7 separate regions of the Homo sapiens genome follow, and regions 2, 3, 4, 5, 6 and 7 are each linked to region 1. Evidence: promoter capture Hi-C in 16 types of primary human blood cells and fetal thymus (Javierre and others, 2016). All regions are on one chromosome and are shown on one strand. The core of a region is centred on a gene start or on the middle of the fragment in contact, and the rest is flanking DNA. Distances in the headings are between cores, read along the strand shown. Region 1 holds the start of MEIS1-AS3 (MEIS1 antisense RNA 3). Region 2 overlaps C1D (C1D nuclear receptor corepressor). Region 3 has its middle 6.8 kb from the start of LINC01812. Region 4 has its middle 81 kb from the start of ETAA1. Region 5 has its middle 26 kb from the start of C1D. Region 6 has its middle 24 kb from the start of LINC01812. Region 7 has its middle 46 kb from the start of LINC01812.

Region 1 (2,700 bases), core at 99-2,598:
CCCTGTCGGTGTTTGGTTTGACCCCCACCTCCCACCCACGCATCTCCCTCCTACCCCCGAGTCGCGCAGATGCCTGGCGGGCCTGATGCGGGGACGATGATCACACCCCCGCGAGCAGCCATCGGAAGGCGCTCAGGTATACCCCGAAGTCGGCTGGGGTTCCGGGAAGGGGTCGCAGACTGCCGGCCCAGCTTAGTCCTTTCCCTAATCGGAAAAGGAGCGTGCTGCCTGGCCCAGCCAGCGCAGCCTCCCAAGGATTAAACAGAAATCGCCTTCCTGAGACGGGGAGGTTCCATCTTGGCCTGAAATTCTGCTTCCAAGTTCATGTTGTGGGGCCGGGGAGCGACGGTGAGGCGTGGGGTGGGGGGGTGGGGGGATGGGGGGAGGCCGGGAAGTGTAGGCAGAGGCATAAAGGCGCTGGTAATGCACCTGGCTGCCCACCCACTCCGTCCCCAGCTTTTACTCGCGGGCCTGTCTTAACCTCCCAAGTGATGTTTCAGGGCGTTTGTACCAGAAAACCTACACATGTATGTGATGGAAAAAAACTAAAAGATCCTGAAACTTAAGCGTCAGAAAAAAGACAGGGAGAAACAGAGAGAAAAAGGAGAGAGGAAGCAAATGATAAGGGATCCTGGAGATGGTTTAAACACACACACACACACACACACACACACACACACACACACACACACACACACACGAGGGAGAGCTCTTTCAAGGCAAAGCGCTTCTGAAGGTTTTGGGAGAACGTGTGTCAGCCCTTCAGGCACACAGGGTGCCAGTACGGAGTTGGGGGCGGGGAAGGGTGCAGTGCAGGCGGCTGGGAAGGCTCATCTGCTCGGCTTTATGGAAACGCTCCACTGTTGGGGGCAACCAACCCCGCGTTGACTCCTGCGAAGTGCTAAAGGAAGCGATAGATGTCGCCTAAGGAGACTACGGACGCTCGGTGGAACCTCATTCCAGACCTATGTTCTCATGCTCGCCCTGTGTCTCCTGCTCCTCGGAAGCCCACTCTATAGAATCTTCAGTCCTACCTCGCAGACGGACGCAAATTATCTTTTACTTTGCGCTTAAGAGTTGGCTTCAATACATTTTAGAGCTCCTAACCTTTCCCAAACAATCTTCGGATGAAGGGATACCCCCAATCTTGCTCAAAACTCTTTCCCTACCTACACCCCCTTGAGGGTGAGGGTTCAGTCCGCAGCTGGCGAGTGGGACGTGGGTGGGGGCGATGGAGGCGCGGGCGGGCTGCTTGGAGGGAGTCAGCCTTTTGGCCACCTTCAGGGCGGGAATAGGGACTGGCAGTTCGCATTCCCCGCAGATCGAAGCTCCCTGCTGATCGATTATTTGATAATTGATTTTCCCCGCAGCCAATGCGCGGCGGCCTGGGCGGGGGCGCCTCCTGATTGGCCGAGCACTCCTCCACGGCTGCCTACCGAGATTTGGGTGAGCTCATTTTCCAGTCGACCGCAGGGGGAGTTTTCTGCGAGGTTTCAGCTGGAGGGAGGGGGAAAAATCCTCTCGGAGCCGAGCGAGCTGCGAGCCCTGCTTGTGGATGTGAGGTTTCCAGCCACTGGTAGAGCTGCTGCGGCTGAGCCATCTCGGCAGATCAGAGCCCAGCGGACAGAAATATAAATACGAAAATAACGCCACTAAATATAATCACAAGGGAGAAGCTTAGAGCGGGAGAATAAAGAGAAGGGGTGAGGGGGAATTAAAGCCCAGGCAATAGGTGTTAAAGTTAAAAACAAAACAAAACAAAAAACAGTGGTTGGTTGGAGCCTCCGAGTTGTAGGTACAGGCAGCTTTTGTCTGAAATCTCAGCTTCCGAAGCGGATTTCTTTTTCTCTGGCACTGGGAGGTTTCGCCGAGCCGGGTTGGGGACGGGAAAGAGGAGCGCGGGGAAGGATGTCTGGGGTGGTGAGGGCAGGGCTTCGCTGGAGAAAGAGCTAGTGGGGCGCGAGGTTCTTACAGGCCCGGGAGAGGTCGAGGCTGGAGCCCCTCGGCGCCTCTAAGACAAAGGCAGCGGTGGCTGCAGCCGGAGCCTAGCACTCCGGCAGCGTCGCGCCGCGCCGCGCCGCGCCCTGGGCGCACGGCCGCCTCACCCCGAGCGGGTCGGAGAAAGAGCCTCCCTCCCAGCGGCTCCCCGGCCCCGGCTCCGCCCGCGAGGTCTGGGCTGCTGCGAGCCCGCGCCGGGTTTCGCTTTCCGACGATCATAAATAGCTTGGTGTTTGTAAACAGGCGCTGGGGGCACATTCCCCGCGCTCAGCTCATTGTTCCCTCCCTTCCTCTCTACTTCGCGCAGGACGCCTGGGCTGGGGCTGGGAGCCGCCGGGGCTAGGAGGTGGGGGAGTCCAGACCCGAAGTGACAAAATGCTAGCATTTTCTTTCCCCCGGCCGGGCGTCCACCTCTAACAGCAAAGAAACCTCTAAGCTGGGTCTGCAGAAAGCCCGAGCCACCTCAACCCCATGTTCTCAGGACTCCTTAGCAGAGGCTTTCCCAACCTGGCTTCTCCCTCCTTTTCCTCCACGATCCCGCTTTGACTTTTCTCCTTGCAGTGTTTAGTTCTGAGAATTCAGTACTTTGCGCATCACCCCCTGCCCCGAAAAACACTGGCAGACCCCAATAATTTCGAGGAAAGTCATGAAGTCTATGCGCGGAGCCCTGTGCAAAATAACTCCCGCTGCTGCCTGCCCGGC
Region 2 (2,700 bases), core at 59-2,558, 1.6 Mb after region 1:
CAGGATAACTGACCAGGTTTCCATAACAAGTCAACAGCATGAAGCAAAAAAAAAAAAGTGGGGGAAGAAAGACAGAGGAAGAAGAGATTTAAGAGATGTAACAACCAAATGAAATACACAGACCTTGTTTGGATCTTGATTCAAATAAACCAAGTGGAAAAAGATAGTTCTGTGAGAAAGAAATCTGAACATGGACAAAGTACTAGATGACACCAACAAATTATTGATAATTCTGTCATCTATGATAATAGCAATACAGTTATATAAGAAAATTTCCCTGTCTTTTGAGGATGCACACTGAAGTATAGAGGGGTAAAATTATGTAACATTTTGAATTTGCTTAAAAAAAAAGTAGCCTCCACAAATTATTACAACTTTGAGAGCAAAGATAAGAACCTATGTACATTATTTCTATAGTGAAATTAGATGGCTAACTCACAAACTAGCTTTTAGAATACAACTCCGTTCATATATAGGAGAATAACTAAAGAGAAGGTGTCGTCTAGAATATTTAAGCAGCTCCATTACATCTCATTTCAATTCCAAATATAACTGGAGTGAGGGAGAGGAAGGTTACTGGGTGCTCACTACATCTGTGATAGTTGCTGAACATATAGTCTCAAATGAAGTTTGTATTACTAACATTTCCAACAAAAGGCTCACATTCTAGAGTGTCTATTTATTTCAAGAGTATCACAAAAATCCTTTTGAGACAGAGTCTTGCTGTCTCGCCCAAGCTGGAGTGCAGTGGCTCAATCTCAGCTCAACGCAACCTCTGCCTCCCAAGTTCAAGCAATTCTCCTGCCTTTTACAGGTGCGTGCCACCATGCCCAGCTAATTTTTGTATTTTTTTAGGAGAGACGGGGTTTCACCATGTTGGCCAGGCTGTCTCGAAATCCTGACCTTGTGATCTGCCCACCTCAGCCTCCCAAAGTGCTGAGATTACAGGTGTGAGCCATCGAGCCCAGCAAATTCCCTTCTTTAAAAAAAAAATCCTAATTTCTTGTATTTTTACCTGGCCCTTAAAAATGCAGGCAAAATAAACAAATAAACAAACACCCAAGACTAATGTCAAATAAAAAACTAAAAAAAGACATATGCAACACAAAGATTTTTTTAAAGCCTCTATGAATCAATTTAACAATAACAAAAAAAGTACACACAACCCAAAAGAAAAATAAACAAGAAAATCAACAGTTCACAAATAATCCAGATGACCAATAAGCATAAAGAAAGCTACTCAGCCTTACTGATAATTAAGGAAACATAAATCGCTAAAATATGATGCCATTTTCATCTGTCAAATAGGGAAAAATTAAAAAGATTAATAGTACTAAAATGGACAAAGGTGAGCTGAGAACAGCCTCCCATTCACTATTAGTCAGGGTATAAATTAGTTTAGCATTTTTGTGAGGTAATCTGCACTATGCTTCAAAATCACATATGTACACATGCTTTGACCTAGCAATTTTACTTCTCAAAGTATATTTTAGCGCAAGATAATGTTTAAGGACTTCCACTGCAATGATCTTTAAAACAGTAAACTTTAAAACAGAACAACCCACACATCCATTATTAGAACCTGGTTAAATAAATTATGATATGCCCACCTATTAAAATACTCTGCAGTAGTGAAAAGGTACGAGGTACAGCTTAGAAAGATTCCTAAGATATATTAAGTGAACAAAAGTTGAAGAACAGCATGTATAATACATCCTATTTATTTATTTATTTATTTGAGTCAAAGTTTCGTTCTTGTTGCCCAGGTTGGAGTGCAGTGGTGCGATCTCAACTCACTGCAACCTCCCCTACTGGGTTCAAGTGATTCTCCTGCCTCAGCCTCCCAAGTAGCTGGGATTACAGGCGTCCACCACACCTTGCTATTTTTTTTTTTTTCGTATTTTTAGTAGAGATGAGGTTTCACCATGTTGGCCAGGCTGGTCTCAAACTCCTGATCTCAGGTGATCTGCCTGCCTCAGCCTCCCACAGTGCTGGGATTAGAGGCGTGAGCCACCACGCCCAGCTCATCCCATTTATTTTGAAGAAAAAAAGATATATGAATGTGGAGGCATATTTGTATGGTATATGCATGTAAGTTTTCTTAAAGGATCCAAAAGAAGCTGTTAACTGTGGTCACTTCTGGGAAACAAAAAGCAAGAAAGTGAGGAAGTACATTTTGTTACACTCTCTGAATTACAATTTTTAAAGAATAAAATATGTAACATATTATAATAATACTTAAGTTTATAAATAAAAACTTCGATCATCTCAAATTTTGAAATTTACTTTATTCTCAAACATACCAGATAAAAATGTCATTTCCCCCTACTTAGCAGCAACAACTAAACCTATATTCTTTACCACTGTTACATTCAAAGAACCATATAAATGTGTTTTCTACACCTAAATTGTCTAGCCACCAGGCGGCTATTTTCCTCTATTCTCATGGTACAAAAGCCTCCTCTGGCCTGCTTGCTACATGGCCATACCTCCCAGTCAACTGGTTTAAAGATGCTTTTGCAAGTTCTCATCTTCTCTTTCTGCCCCCAGCCAACCATTCTAGCTCTAGGCCTACTGAACATTCATTCCTAACGAAATTCACAAAAGACATAAATTAATGCTACCCAACTGCAACAGGTCCTCTGTCAGTTGCCTGACAGTTCCTTTATTTATCCCTGATACCTCCTCAGCACTTATTGC
Region 3 (2,700 bases), core at 189-2,688, 1.4 Mb after region 1:
CCTCCTTCTCTTTTGCTTTATTCTTGCTAGTCCAGGTCTCTTGGCATGAAATCCTGAGAAAGTTTATTCGTGGGAGAAGCTCCGGCTTAGGCTTGAATTCAGAGATGAAAATTTCCCTTCTTAGGAGTCTTCAGCAGAAATGAAATGAAAGTGAATGATTCTGGGGGGCCCAGGATACTTGGAAAAGATCTATGGTCCAAAGAGGGGTTAGGACAGCTGAAAACCAAGCTAACCTACATCACCCTCTCAACCAGCACCTAAGCCTTCAAAAAGAAAATGAAGAAACTTGGACAAAGAGCCAGTAGATCCCAAACATAACACCCATCAGGAATGGTGTCCTTGTCTCTGGACAGGGACTCTGAGACACCCATTTTTTATTTTATTTTATTTTATTATTTTATTTTTCAGAGACAGGGTCTCTCCCTGTGGCCCGGGCTGGAGTATAATGGGTGATCATAGCTCACTGCAGCCTCAAACTGCTGGGCTCAAGCACTCCTCTCACTCTTAGCCTCCCAAGTAGCTAGAATTACAGGAGTGTGCCACCATGCCAGGCTAATTTTGGTTTCGTTTTGTCTGTTGGGTTTTTTTTTGGTAGAGGTGGGGTCTCATTGTTGCCTGGGCTGGTCTCAAACTTCTAGACTCAAGTGATCCTCCCACCTCAGCCTCTCAAACATCTGGGAGTATAGATGCACACCATCACGTCCAGTTAATTTTTTAACTTTTTTGTAGAGACGGGGTCTTACCATGCTGCCAAGGCTGGTGTCAAACTTCTTGGCTCAAGCCATCTTCCCACCTGTCTCCCAAAATGCTGGGATTATAGGGGTAAGCCACCGTACCTGGCCCCTGGCCTCTTCTCTGTTTCATATAAAAACACCTAAATGAGCACTTTGGAAGGCCAAGACGGGTGGATCACTTGAGGTCAGGAGTTCGAGACCAGCCTGGCCAACATGGTGAAACCCCATCTCTACTAAAAATACAAAAGATTAGCCAGGTGTGGTGGCACGCGCCTGTAGTCCCAGCTACTCAGGAGTCTGAGGCATGAAAATCACTTGAACCCAGGAGGCAGAGGTCGCAGTGAGCTGAGACTGCGCCACTGCACTCCAGCCTAGGTGACAGAGTAAGACTGTCTCAAAACACACACACACACACACACACACACACACACACACACACACAAAACCACCTAAATGATGTATTTAATGCATTTGGGATATTGGATGTAAGACATTTCCCAAGAAGAGGTAGTATTAATTACATATTTCACATTTGTACAAAATAGAAAGAAATATTATGAGGGGTAGGAATCAAAATGTAGGGAACTGGGCCTGTTCTGTGTTACCATAATTTTAGGACTTAATATAACATCATATACTAAATACGGGCACAACATGAAAACCAGTAACCAGAGGTCACAGAGTAGCCATTAGCATAGAGTCTAGCCAACAGAGGAGATCAGGAAATCTTTCTGAGATGGATAGAGGATAGATGGATAGATGATTAGATGATGATTGGATGGATGGATGGAGTATCTTGTGAACACCCTTCAAGCTAGTAGTCATGAGACTATTGATAAACAAGAAGGAGCGGCATTCTCCATGGCATATTTTGATCTGAGCCCACCACTACCTTCCATCTATCATTGCAGTTGAACCAGAAAGGCCTGCCTCAGCAACAGGAGACCTTCTCTAAAGCATGTTTTCATTAGGGCTTTCTCAGTTGCAAATGACAGATCCCTACTTGTAATGGCTTAAGCCACAAACAACAAGTGTTGAAAGGATATTGGAATATCTCAGGGAATACGAGGATAGATGCAATTTAGTCTCAGAAACCATTTAGAACAAGAACTAGAATCATGTAGGGAACCAGATTTTTCTTCTTTCTGTGCATCTGTTTGATTTTTTCCAGTGTATCTGCTCCATTTTCCTCTGCCATATTGTAGAGTCATTCTTCCTATTTGCCAGAAAACTTTTTTTATAGCAGAAAACATTTTTTCAATGGTTCCTGAGTTCTGCATGATCCAAATCCTGGTACCAAGAAAGAGTCAAAATTGACTCTTAGGACCCATTCCAAATTCCTGGGAAAAGAGCACATTGGCCCAATTTGGGTCAGCTCCCCACTGCTGGGCCAATTAACTATGGCAAGGAGTTAGAATTATGCTGTGTGCTCTCTTGGCAACCATGAGAATGGGAGTGGAAAGGAAAACATTCTAGAAAGATAGGTGAGCTGATCAACCAAATCCCTACAAATAGATTGGCACCACTGGCAAAATTCTTGAGCAGCCCTGGAAAAAATTGTGACATATGACTCTTCTTCATCTTCCATTATTTCTGCACCCACTCTCAGCCCACACACAAACCTCTGCCATCAAGCATCCAAGGATTTCAAGCAATCCAAAGCTGCTTTACTTTGAGACCCAATCCACGTGTACATCCCCACCCAAACTCCACCTTTTCCTTCACAACGTAGAGTTTTCAGGATTCAACTAAAGCCTCAGTTACCTCGTTGGCCCCCCAGGAACTTTGAAAATAATCTCAGCATGCAGGCCTGATGGATAAAGAGGAAGTAGTGTCCGGCATGCATGGGGGAGACAGGAGCCAGAGGTCACTCTGTGTTCAAGATATAGACATAACTCACGCCCACAGAAGACAGTCTTCACAGGGTCCTTCTCTAATGTTCCATCATTAAAATGAGTCAGCTTCT
Region 4 (2,700 bases), core at 150-2,649, 1.0 Mb after region 1:
CCACCCCTCAAAAAAGGTTGGCTTCATTTGCAAAATGAATTTAACTTCAGCTGAATAACTCTTTGAGCTATAAGCCAGGAGCATCCACATGCAGTCATGTATTGTTTGCAAGAGTGCTCGTTTCTCATTGATGAGGTCCCCTCCCCCGTTCTTTTTAACTAAAATTAAGAGAGAATCAAAGAATCCGTCGGGCAAAACATTTTTTTTCAGTTTTGGGGGTTTTGCCTTAGACGTGTGCTGATGTCAGGACAGAGTCCACAAGAATGAAGTGGCCTGGCTCTGGCAGCTTGTGTCAGCACTTTCATTCCAAGTTCCTCTTTTCAGGAGTTTATAACATTGCAATAAAATTTATTATGGGCTGGGACTTGGCATACAGGAGCCTGGGCTAACACCGTAAAGTAGTTTGGAGATTTTTTTCTTTTCTTTTTTTTTTTCCAAGCAAATGTTCAAATCTGTTGGGTCCTGTTTCCCTTTTTAGGGAGTTCAAAATAAAAGCCTGCTCTCATCTGGTCACATGGCCTTGGTTTCTCCTGGTTTTGCTTTCCCTGTGGGCTGTTAGAGGAGAACTGAAAAGGGTCCCCTACCTACGCTATGGTAAACTCTTTTAGGATGAGTTGGAAACAAACAAACAAAAGTAATAAAGAAGTAAATGTTTCCTGTAAATGAAAAAGGCCCTTAAAATTGTAGTTGTTGGAAAAGAGCCTCCAGGGTAGGCGAGGGAAACATGAAAAGGTATTCAAGACTGTTTTCTATAATTGGGTGATCTTCTATGCCCCCCAACAGCTGGGCTTGTTGGCAAACAAGAAGCTGTATGTGGAAAACATGCTCCAATCTGTGTAAACGAAGCAAGCCATGAAAATTAGCATCATCCCCAGGTTAAAAAACAAAATAAAACATGCAGAACACAGACCCCTAGAGAATCAGGTGGGAGGATGTGAGTATGTGGTTATGAGTATGTGCAAGCAGATCTGTTTGATACCGTGGCATATAGAAAATATACACTATACATTTACATTTAATGTATACCTTGTCATGCCTCCCTTGCTTTGTCTTCTTGTTATTGCCCACAAGAATCTATGTCTCAACGACAATTCCGAGATGACCCCCATCCAGAAAAAGAACAAACAATTGAATCAGAAAAATGATTAATCCCATGGAAGGAAATTAATTAGGGGTGTACATAGCTCAATAAGGAATGTCAGAGTTAGAAGGAACTTAGAGTATTGCTTGACCAACCGCTCTTGTATTTTCATTTGCAAGTGAATAAGGTCGCGAATGTCAGCTTTTCCACATCAGAGCTGATATTCAACTAGAACACACAGTATATCTTTACAGGTGGTTAATGGGCAGCATGTGTTCTAATTGGACAGTGCCCAGCCTGGTTGATGTTTTTGGATACTTTCGAATATCACTGCTATCTGTGGTCACACACTGAGTTTGTGGCGATAAGCTATATCCTGGGTTTCTCTGCCAATCATCAGAAATTGTACAGGCTCCAAAATTTTTAACTTGATAGATCTACCGCAAACACTTTCTTAAACGGCCCCCACTTAACTGCTTTGCCAGATCAGACCCACCTGATTAGCAAATGCTCTCTGTTCACTGCATAAAACCCTCCACAGGATGAATGCTAGTGTCTTCTCATTGAGGACCAATGGTATCTACAGTTTGTCCCTAAACCTCCTTAAGTCATTGTACTTTTTTTTTTTTTTCGAGATGGAGTCTCGCACTGTTGCCCAAGCTGAAGTGCAGTGGCGTGATCTCGGCTCCCTGCAACCTCTGCCTCCTGGGTTCAAGTGATTCTTCTGCCTCAGCCTCCCGAGTAGCTGGGACTACAGGTGTGTACCACCACAATGGGCTAATTTTTGTATTTTTAGTAGAGACGGGGTATCACCATATTGGCCAAGCTGGTCTCAAACTCCTGACCTCGTGATCCACCCGCCTTGGCCTCCCAAAGTGCTGGAATTACAGGCATGAGCCACTGCACCTGGCCATCATTGTACTTTTTATTATAATTATGTCATTTAATAAAATATGAAGCTATGAATGTATTTTCATGAATCTATGAAAATTTAGCCAAGCACATTGAAAGACTTAATATAGTTGATTTTTGTTTAAAGTAGGATTGTTAAAAAAAAAAAAAAAAAGTAGGCTGTTGAAATGGGGTGGGCCAGACAACTGTGAACAATTGGAAAAAGCTGCAAAACAATGTGGACATTCTTTTGGCAGTCAAAGTGCTTTGCAAGTATCATATTTTTTTCAGAGAAATTTCCAAACTGGAAATTGTAGAAATATATTATGGATATGGTTTATATAAGAAAGATGCTGTGGAATTCCAGAGGACCCAGACAGGAGGAAGGACCCTCACCCCTGCATCAACAGCTGCAAAATGGACGTGCATTAAAATAAATGTTTAAGTGTAATATCATTTTAAATCATTCCCCACTTGAACAAACTTTGGATTAACTGATTAACAAGTGGTCTCATCATGTCTGAGTAGAGGGCTCTTCCACTAACTCTTTTAGCTCTGTTGTCTTGAGAGGATTCCAGAAAAGAACTTGTGGTTTTAAGCTCTGGGAGCAGGTAGGGGGTTTGGTATGAGTGGAGGAGGGAAGCAATGGAAGGTGGTAAAGATTTTGAAGAGGAAAAGCACGGTAAGGTGGAATAGGTCCCTTACAAATGATCTAGATATAGAAGGCA
Region 5 (2,700 bases), core at 108-2,607, 1.6 Mb after region 1:
TAGGTTCCAGTGAGACAACAGATTATAAACACATTTCCTACAAACTAACCTCCCCTGATGAAAATTAGGTACAATAAAAATCCCTTTCAATTTAGCATTATTAAGACATTCAAGCAAAAATCACACTATCATTTACATATGATAACCCTACTGTTGCGGTGTCTAAACTTATCTTGGTAAGATTCAGAAGTTTCAAAATACCATGGAAGGCAGATTTGGAAGAGACCTACTTCCAAATAAGAGTTCTTATTCTCTAACTATATCTGGAAGGCAACTTGTCTAAAAGTAAACTGAGCCCAAATTTAGGAAAAATAGTTAATGCTCACAGACTATATATATGTATATATATGATAATGAAATATTTGCTACCACATTTAAGTATTCTTATATTATTTCTCCATCACTGAAATGTTTTATTGCTTAAAATTTCAGTAACTAAATAACTCGTATTCACAGGAGTACCTCATTGTCATGCTGCTTCTTTGAACGAATTTTGTTGCTTGTCACTACAACTTTTTTTCTCTTTCGTTTTACCAAAGAAATTATGTTTATGACAACAAAAAATATTCACCATGAGAATCTGATGGGAAAAAATAGAAACAGAAAAAACCAGAAACAAAACTATCTACTTCATTCCTGCTGGTGTGAGGGACTCTCACTTGTAAACCTTTTCTGTCTTTAGTTCTGGTGATAACTTTCCTAACACTCACCTACATTTGCTGTATCACTGGATATCATCTACTAGCTCCCCAGCCTGAAAACTCAGGATTTAATTTATACTACTTTCTCCCTTCCAATTTTTGATAGAAGAATTAAAAAGAATAAATCACCATTACCTTTGAAAAATAAACGTAAAACCGTATTCATCCACCGGTTTTGTACAGCATCTGTGTTTCTCACCACATAAGGATGACCCTCTAATATGTTCTCTATTTCTAACTCACTTCTGCCTATTCTACCTTTACTTTTATACTGGCAAGGTCAATTTCATTTACTTTCTTGTTTTACCTATCAGTTGATTCTAAACGCTGAAAACCAATAAAGCAACATTTACAATATTTAAAAAAAAAAAAAAAACTGGGCCCAAACTATTAAGAGTATGAACCCACTTTGACCCTAAATCATTAAGGGTGAGAACCCACTTCTGAGTTCTCACTAGAGCTCTTTTTTTTGTTTTGTTTCGGTTTTTGTTTTAATAGAGATGGAGGCTATGTTGCCCAGGCTGGTCTCAAACTCCTAAACTCAAGCAATCCTCCCGCCTTGGCCACCCACAGCGCTGGGATTATAGACATGAGCCACTGCGCCCAGCCTCTGAGTTCTCTAATACCTTTTTTTTTTTTTTTTTTTTTTTTTTTTTTTTTGTCTTTTGAGACGGAGTTTCGCTCTTTGTTGCCCAGGCTGGAGTGCAATGGCGCGATCTCGGCTCACCACAACATCCGCCTCCTGGGTTCAAGCGATTCTCCTGCCTCAGCCTCCCGAGTAGCTGGGATTACAGGCATGCGCCACCACGCCCGGCTACTAATTTTGTCTAATGCCTAACTTTAAAGAAAGAAAACTGGGCCAGGCGCCGTGGCTCATGCCTCTAATTCCAGCACTTTGGGAGGCCGAGGTGGGTGGATCACTCGAGGTCAGGAGTTTGAGACCAGCCTGGCCAACATGGTGAAACCCCATCTCTACTAAAAATACAAAAATTAGCTGGGCACGGTGGCGGGCACCTGTAATCCCAGCTACTCGGGAGGCTGAGGCAGGAGAATTGCTTGAACCCAGAAGGTGGAGGTTGCAGTGAGCTGAGATCCCGCCACTGCACTCCAGCTTGGGTGACAGAGTGAGACTCCGTCTCAAAAAATAAAAAAATAAAGAAAACTGAATATCACACTATACAGTTAAGAATTTATAGACACATACACATTTTTTAAAAATGTCTATCTGGATGAATCCAATACGCGATTTTTTAAGTGGTGTGTGCTTATCCAAGAGGACAAATTATACACATATTCTGGCAGATTTTTTTCAGGATTTTCGTTATTTGAACCTGACTGTTGCATTACATTAGGGAAAGATCACATGGCAGATGATAATAGGCATGGTGAAAATCTCCTCTCCATGGAAACCCGACAGGGTTTTAAGTAAATTTCTTCAAGCAAGATAAAGATTAAGAGATGGCATACTCAACACTCAATCATAACTGACAGTATGTTAGAAAGGTCTGAACATTTTGGCTTCAGAAAGAGTATAACAGACCCTTGACATTTCAAGGTGTAAGTTCCAAGATTTTTGCCCAAATTCAAAAGTATTCTTGAATAACTTTACCCAGGTTCCTGGTTTTCTTCAGAATTACACTTTCATCTTGTGCCAAAGATTTTTACACACATTTTCACATCCAAGTTATTAATCTTCTCAATCGTGTCCACTCAATAATGGCCATTGTGTGTGTTTCCTAGGGCTGCCATAACAAAGTATCAATAACTGGGTGGCTTACACAACAGAAATGTGCTGTCTGGCAGTTCTGAAGGCTAGCAGTCCAAAGTCACAGGATCAGCAAAGTTGGTTCCTTCCGAGGATTATGAGAATCTGTTCCAGGCCTCTCACCTAGCTTCTGGTGGTTGCTGGCAATCTTTGGTATTCCCTGGCTTACAGAAGCATAATCCCAAACTCTGCCTTAATCTTCACAGGTGTTCTCCCTGTGTGCATGTTGTGTCC
Region 6 (2,700 bases), core at 144-2,643, 1.4 Mb after region 1:
TCTTCCAGTACAGGGTATTGTTAAGCCAAAGGTGGATTAGATTAGCCCAGCAAATTGCAACGTTCATCTTTGAGATTACAGATGAAATTGCTAGAGGAAAAAAAAAACTCAAGCAAACAAGGATTTTGGTCACAAGTTGGAACAAATATGGGCTCCTGCTGAATAGCTACACAGAGAAAAATTTGGAGTAGTACCCAAGACCCTCATCATTCTCCCCACAGACAGAAATGATGGCTCTGGGAAAGAGAGGCTGCAATCCCACCACATGAACTGTAGATCTGGGCTACGGTATTTGGAGGGCACTGGAGTGGGACAGGATATTCACCGAAGATATTTACTAGTATGATTTTCCATCTGGCCTTATTATTCTGGCATGGCTGCCAGCACCTTATAATCCCAGCATTGTATTCGCAAGCAATTCCTCTGCTCATTAGCAGAAGCTGAGTCCAACTCTGCTCTTGTAGGGGCTTGTGAATCAGCATAGACCAACAGACAGCGTTTCCAGGAGCTAGCTGCAAAGAAACAAGGACGCTACTCATTGAGGGGAAGGCATCTGTATCAGTTAGGAATTGCATTTGACTGTTAGTAGCAGGGGCTGGATATAACAGTGATTAAATAAATGTGCTTCCTCCTCGTGTGAAGGAAGTCCTGAGCAAGGCAGTCCAGGAGGACATGGAAGTGCTGGAGTGTCAGGATCCTTCTATCTTTATGCTCCATCACAGTTAGCACATGGTTTCCATCTGCAACACTGTCTCATGGTCTAAGATGGCTGTTGGCTGGGCCTCCAGTAGTCACATTTATATCCAGGCATGGAGCAGAAAAAAATGGGAAGAACAAAAGGAAGTACATGTCAGCTATTGTTCCCTTCTCAAGCTTTCCTGGACATCCCACTGAGCCACTTCTTAATTTAATTTGCTAACTTCTAGCTACAAGAGAAGCTGAGCACATTGTCCCTCAAATAAAATCCAGTTCCTGTTGTAAAAGAACAGTAGGAAGAATAAAATGAACATCAGGTTGATCCCTGGGTTGCTTCAGAATCATGCAAAGACATCTGTAAAGGAGAGTTACTTCCAGCTTAGAATGTTTATTTCAGCCTTGACAACCACATTAACAATAAGCATCATAACCACTGGGTCACAGTACACTCTCGGGACCCCTGCCTTTGATTGGATGGAGGAATTCTTTAAGATTATTTGAAACTTGTGCTATCTCTCCATAAAGTTCCTCCATAGGAATGACATTGTTCCTGGGTCACATCACTGTCAACATTTACAAGTCATCATCTGTGAACTTGATAAAGAAATTAAGTCCCATTATTGGGTTAAGATTCAACTGTCTCACTCTGTTGAACATAGTGTGACTAAAATCAAACAAAGTGCTAAACAAGTGGCCAATGTACAAATACAAAAAGTGACATGGGCAACTGCCACATCTAACCAGATCATGTCGACCCTGATTTGTCACGATCACCTGGAAATGTCAAGTGAAAGTAGCAGTTTGGTTTTAGGATACTGGAGAATAATAAAGTACCACGTATAAGGAGGTATTTAATAAAAGGAATTGGATTATAATAATGAAGATATGAATCATGATGATGATAAGTGGATGATAAATTACTTTAACTCTTCACTCCGTGGGCACATGCCCACAAGAGTGGGATCTTCAATTTATATGGATCCCTTTAATTTCTACTACGCTTCACAGTTTTCAGGCAATTTTATCTCATCTATGCCTCAAAACTCGGAAGGACAGACATTATTAATAGTAGTGTTTTTAAACTGATGGGATAGAAGCTCAAAAATAGCAAGTGACATATTCAAGTTGTCACAGTGGATAAAGGCAGAAAGCCAGCACTAAAACCCCACCCTTGCCTGTAGGCTGGGACTCTGAATTATACCTCTCGAGCAGAACACATAAGCTTTAAACTACTTTATGTTTTTGAACCCTGATGTTATTTCTTGAAGATTTTAAGGTCTTTAAATGAATGGGTTATGTCTTTTTTGTCACTGAATTTGCCTGTGCGCAGAACAGAACCTTGTATACAATAGGAGAAACTCTCAATTAATGTTTATTAAAGATAATGATATATGGACTCAGCATATGGTGAGATCAGCAACATCTATTAGCATAAGAAGGGGCTGGAAAAAATGAAAGTGAGCCTAACCTCAGTCTACCAAGAACACAAGGACACTGTCTCTACCTTTGGTGTCTGGATCTTGGGTGGGAGAGGGTGATCAAAATTTGACCTCAGTGTGCCAGAGTCATTTTATCTATAACATAAGGAGATAGGACTGGAAAATTTCCGTGAGACCCTTCATTATTAGAATGCCATGATTCTAATCGCCACTTGAAAGTTCCTGAGAAAAGAACCATGTGAATGGCAGAGAGATAAGGTACTACGGTTCAAATCTTCTCTGGTTCTTTATGAAAAGCTTTAAGTCTCAAAATATCTGCTCTGCCTTTTCTTAATAAGTTGTGCCCATGCAAATCCCTATTCTCTCAATGTAAGCACAATCACCAAAAAAGAGAGACAACTACACCCTAGTGAGAAGCTCCACAAATACACTCTCTGGAGGTCTCCCTGTCAGGTTCCTACTTCCACCTACACCCTTTATCTCTAAGTCTCTGCCATCACTGATGCTGAAAGACATTTTTTTTAAGGTAGGATCTTCTAAATCCAGCCCTCTGTAAATCCTTGCC
Region 7 (2,700 bases), core at 108-2,607, 1.4 Mb after region 1:
AGTTTATCAAACATTTAAGAGCATGGCTTTGGATTAAAGAGACCTGAGGTTCAAGTTCTTCTTCTGCCACCTCCTAGCTGTGTGACTTCTGGTAACTCACTGCCTTCTCTGAGCCTTAGTTTCCTCATCCACACAATAAGGATAACCGTCGCTACCTTGCTGGTCCCTAGTGAAAATTAAATGAGATCAAGAGACTTAGTACAGCACCTGACATATCTACACTCATTAAGTGTGGTTGGTGTGGCTTCTGTTGCCAATTCTCTAAGTGGGAAAACAGGATAAATTGCAACTCATTCAGTGTCCCAGAGAGTTTGCCACTGAACAAGCAGCAATTTCAAAGTTCTAATTTCTTTTTCTTTGCTCTCTGAATAGCTCAGAAGGGATGGATAGGCTGTGAAAAATGTTCTCAGGCTGGTCAGTTTGAGATATTTCATTTCACGAATCTGTCTGTGAAAACTGCCAGCTCATTTCATTGATCAATGGCCATCCAGTGTTGGAGTTTAAGTTATTACCACCCTAAACTAAGGCTGAAAGAGATCCTTAGGAGTAAGAAGCTCCGAAAGGTACTCGTGGCTTCTTCAGAGACATAGCTAGGCTCCACAATCAAGCTTCAATCCGTTTTATGTGCAATTTGCATTTGTACACGAACAACTTTTTCTCATGCTGGAATTTTCTCCACCAGCTTGTGGATGGACTTTTGTAGCTGCCTCAGATGATATTTTCTAGCTTTCTGTGTATGCATTTGCAGCTGTCCTGTCTCCCCTTCAAAGCACCCTGGCTTTTCAAATGTAAGCAGATCTAAGTGGACACTGTCAATCAATCAATCAATTGATTAAATATATATCAAGTACCTACTTGGTACAGTGTCAGGACTCTCAACATGGGCAAACATAAAGAAGAAAACACATTATGTGGTCTTAAAGACTTGAAGTAACTAACAACAACACAGGTGAGTGGATCCTAATGAGGTAGCTCAAATAGTTAAGTGTCAAAAATTACTAGAAAGGAGATGGTCACTTCTGAGTTTAGGGATCTCAAAAATAATGTTAAGCAATTCCCACCCCATCCTCATCACCATTCCTCTGACAGAATTAAGAACAGAACTGTGCACGAAGTGGGTGCCTCATAAATGCTGACAAATAAATGCTAACACATGTATTACATGTAGGACATGTTCTTGAATTGACGTTATTTCTTTCAGAAAATCTCCTCCTTGCAAGTAGCTTAGATGCTGATTCCTCACAACTTATGAGATTTAGCACAGCAGATTTTACATGGTAGAAATGTCACAGCGTTGGAGAAGGATGGGGTCACACAGACAGAGGTTAGGCTTCCAGCTTTGCCGCCTATTAGTTATAAAGTCTGAGCAAGTTACTTAACCTGAGTCTGTGTCTTCCCCTGAAAAACAGGAGTAAAGCCATCTCTTCTGCAAGATTTTTGTCAAGATTAGAAATAGTGTAAATAAAGCATGCAGTGACACATAAAAGTGCTAAATAAACTGTATCCATTCCCATTACTCTGTTCAACAAAAATCGTCCAGCTCACTCTCCTCATCTCCCTTCCATGGTGGAATAAGTTCCTGACTCTGCTGTACAGGACCCTCAGCTCACAAGACACCCACAATAGCAAACAAAGCTCAAAACTCTGCTTCTCTTTATTTCATCTTACATTCTCAAGAGGAAAAAGATAAAACACAACAACAGGCATTAAGAAACTAGGAGAAACTGACCAAACTAAAACCTCCCCCTGGATGCTCCATAGATCCCTGTTCTCTTAGAAACTTCCCTGACAAAGTTTGCATCTATGCTCATCTTTGAGTTTGCTTCACCCACCTTTGACCTATGGCTAGCCATATGGCCTCTTTATAAATGATTCTATGTAGAAGAAATTATCTTGAAGAGATTCTATTTTCCCATTAATAATGATTCACCAAGACCAATTGCACCAAAAAATCAATAGAACCCACAGATTCTATCATCAGGAGAGTGGGAAGAAGCAAATCTCTTCCATTCATTCACATCAAGTCACCCTCATTCCCAGATTGTACATCTCTGCGATTTTTCTCAGTTCCAACAGATTTTGTGGGGGCTGAAGTGACAGGAAAAGCAAGCTTGTTACACCACAAATCACACAGACGCTACTGGTAAGGGCAGAAGTGTGGAGGCACACACTAAAAGAAGCATTTCTTTCTCATTCATCATTTAACCAGCTCTCTGGGTTGCTGTTTCAGGGCCAGGAAAACACCAGATCCAGTGAGAGACAGAAAGTCCCACTTTCTCGAAATGGAACTTGGACAAAGTTCTGTGAGGCCCAGGGAAAGTAAGGCCAACGCAGCGTGGCCAAGGTTCTGATGAACCATAAAGGAGAGGAAATGGCACTTTCCTCTGAGTCATGCAGAAACGATTTACTCTCCAGCCTTCTAACCATTAATGGTCTGAAAACGTGGGGCAACTGACCTCCAGAGCCGCCCTGCTCCCACAGCATAGCCCGCAGTCCTGCGCCAAGCTGACATGGAAATCAGATCAAGAGTGAACCTGAGGTAGTGGCACTCTACCCTAACTGTTGACAGATGGAGAATGGAAGCCACATAAATGCTCTCTCTTGTGTCAGCACTATAAAAACGCCGGACTGACCCATGAAAGATGGAGATGGAAGCTCGAGCAGCCATTAGGAGCCATGCCTTACTCTGAGCAATAACTC

The links. The method cuts DNA at HindIII sites, captures the fragments that hold promoters and counts their contacts. A CHiCAGO score of 5 or more calls a contact.
Region 2: a contact is called between a fragment that was not itself captured here and the fragment with the promoter of MEIS1-AS3 in region 1, in 1 of 17 cell types (M2 macrophages). The highest score is 6.0, in M2 macrophages.
Region 3: a fragment that was not itself captured here is called in contact with the fragment with the promoter of MEIS1-AS3 in region 1 in 4 of 17 cell types (erythroblasts, endothelial precursors, M2 macrophages and 1 more); the score reaches 6.0 in erythroblasts.
Region 4: a contact is called between a fragment that was not itself captured here and the fragment with the promoter of MEIS1-AS3 in region 1, in 2 of 17 cell types (endothelial precursors and fetal thymus). The highest score is 6.1, in endothelial precursors.
Region 5: a fragment that was not itself captured here is called in contact with the fragment with the promoter of MEIS1-AS3 in region 1 in 6 of 17 cell types (M2 macrophages, M0 macrophages, M1 macrophages and 3 more); the score reaches 14.1 in M2 macrophages.
Region 6: a fragment that was not itself captured here is called in contact with the fragment with the promoter of MEIS1-AS3 in region 1 in 14 of 17 cell types (M0 macrophages, naive B cells, M2 macrophages and 11 more); the score reaches 22.9 in M0 macrophages.
Region 7: a contact is called between a fragment that was not itself captured here and the fragment with the promoter of MEIS1-AS3 in region 1, in 1 of 17 cell types (endothelial precursors). The highest score is 5.6, in endothelial precursors.

What each region holds. Positions count from the first base shown.
Region 1 is chr2:66,432,122-66,434,821 of GRCh38, forward strand. It overlaps MEIS1-AS3 (MEIS1 antisense RNA 3), which reads right to left and starts at 1,349. Exons shown (of 4, transcript NR_046438.2): 1 at 1,170-1,349. RefSeq lists enhancers at 1,178-1,530, 2,400-2,700 and a silencer at 2,056-2,155. The HindIII fragment of the contact is 5,363 bases long and covers 1-1,674 here.
Region 2 is chr2:68,055,432-68,058,131 of GRCh38, forward strand. All of the region lies in intron 1 of C1D (C1D nuclear receptor corepressor), which reads right to left. Among named protein-coding and RNA genes, the nearest start is that of C1D, 6.2 kb to the right of the region's middle. The HindIII fragment of the contact is 3,356 bases long and covers 1-2,700 here.
Region 3 is chr2:67,831,025-67,833,724 of GRCh38, forward strand. No RefSeq gene overlaps it. Among named protein-coding and RNA genes, the nearest start is that of LINC01812, 6.8 kb to the left of the region's middle. The HindIII fragment of the contact is 3,031 bases long and covers 1-2,700 here.
Region 4 is chr2:67,477,262-67,479,961 of GRCh38, forward strand. No RefSeq gene overlaps it. Among named protein-coding and RNA genes, the nearest start is that of ETAA1, 81 kb to the left of the region's middle. The HindIII fragment of the contact is 7,874 bases long and covers 1-2,700 here.
Region 5 is chr2:68,035,519-68,038,218 of GRCh38, forward strand. No RefSeq gene overlaps it. Among named protein-coding and RNA genes, the nearest start is that of C1D, 26 kb to the right of the region's middle. The HindIII fragment of the contact is 4,289 bases long and covers 1-2,700 here.
Region 6 is chr2:67,848,271-67,850,970 of GRCh38, forward strand. No RefSeq gene overlaps it. Among named protein-coding and RNA genes, the nearest start is that of LINC01812, 24 kb to the left of the region's middle. The HindIII fragment of the contact is 1,045 bases long and covers 872-1,916 here.
Region 7 is chr2:67,869,719-67,872,418 of GRCh38, forward strand. No RefSeq gene overlaps it. Among named protein-coding and RNA genes, the nearest start is that of LINC01812, 46 kb to the left of the region's middle. The HindIII fragment of the contact is 1,502 bases long and covers 607-2,108 here.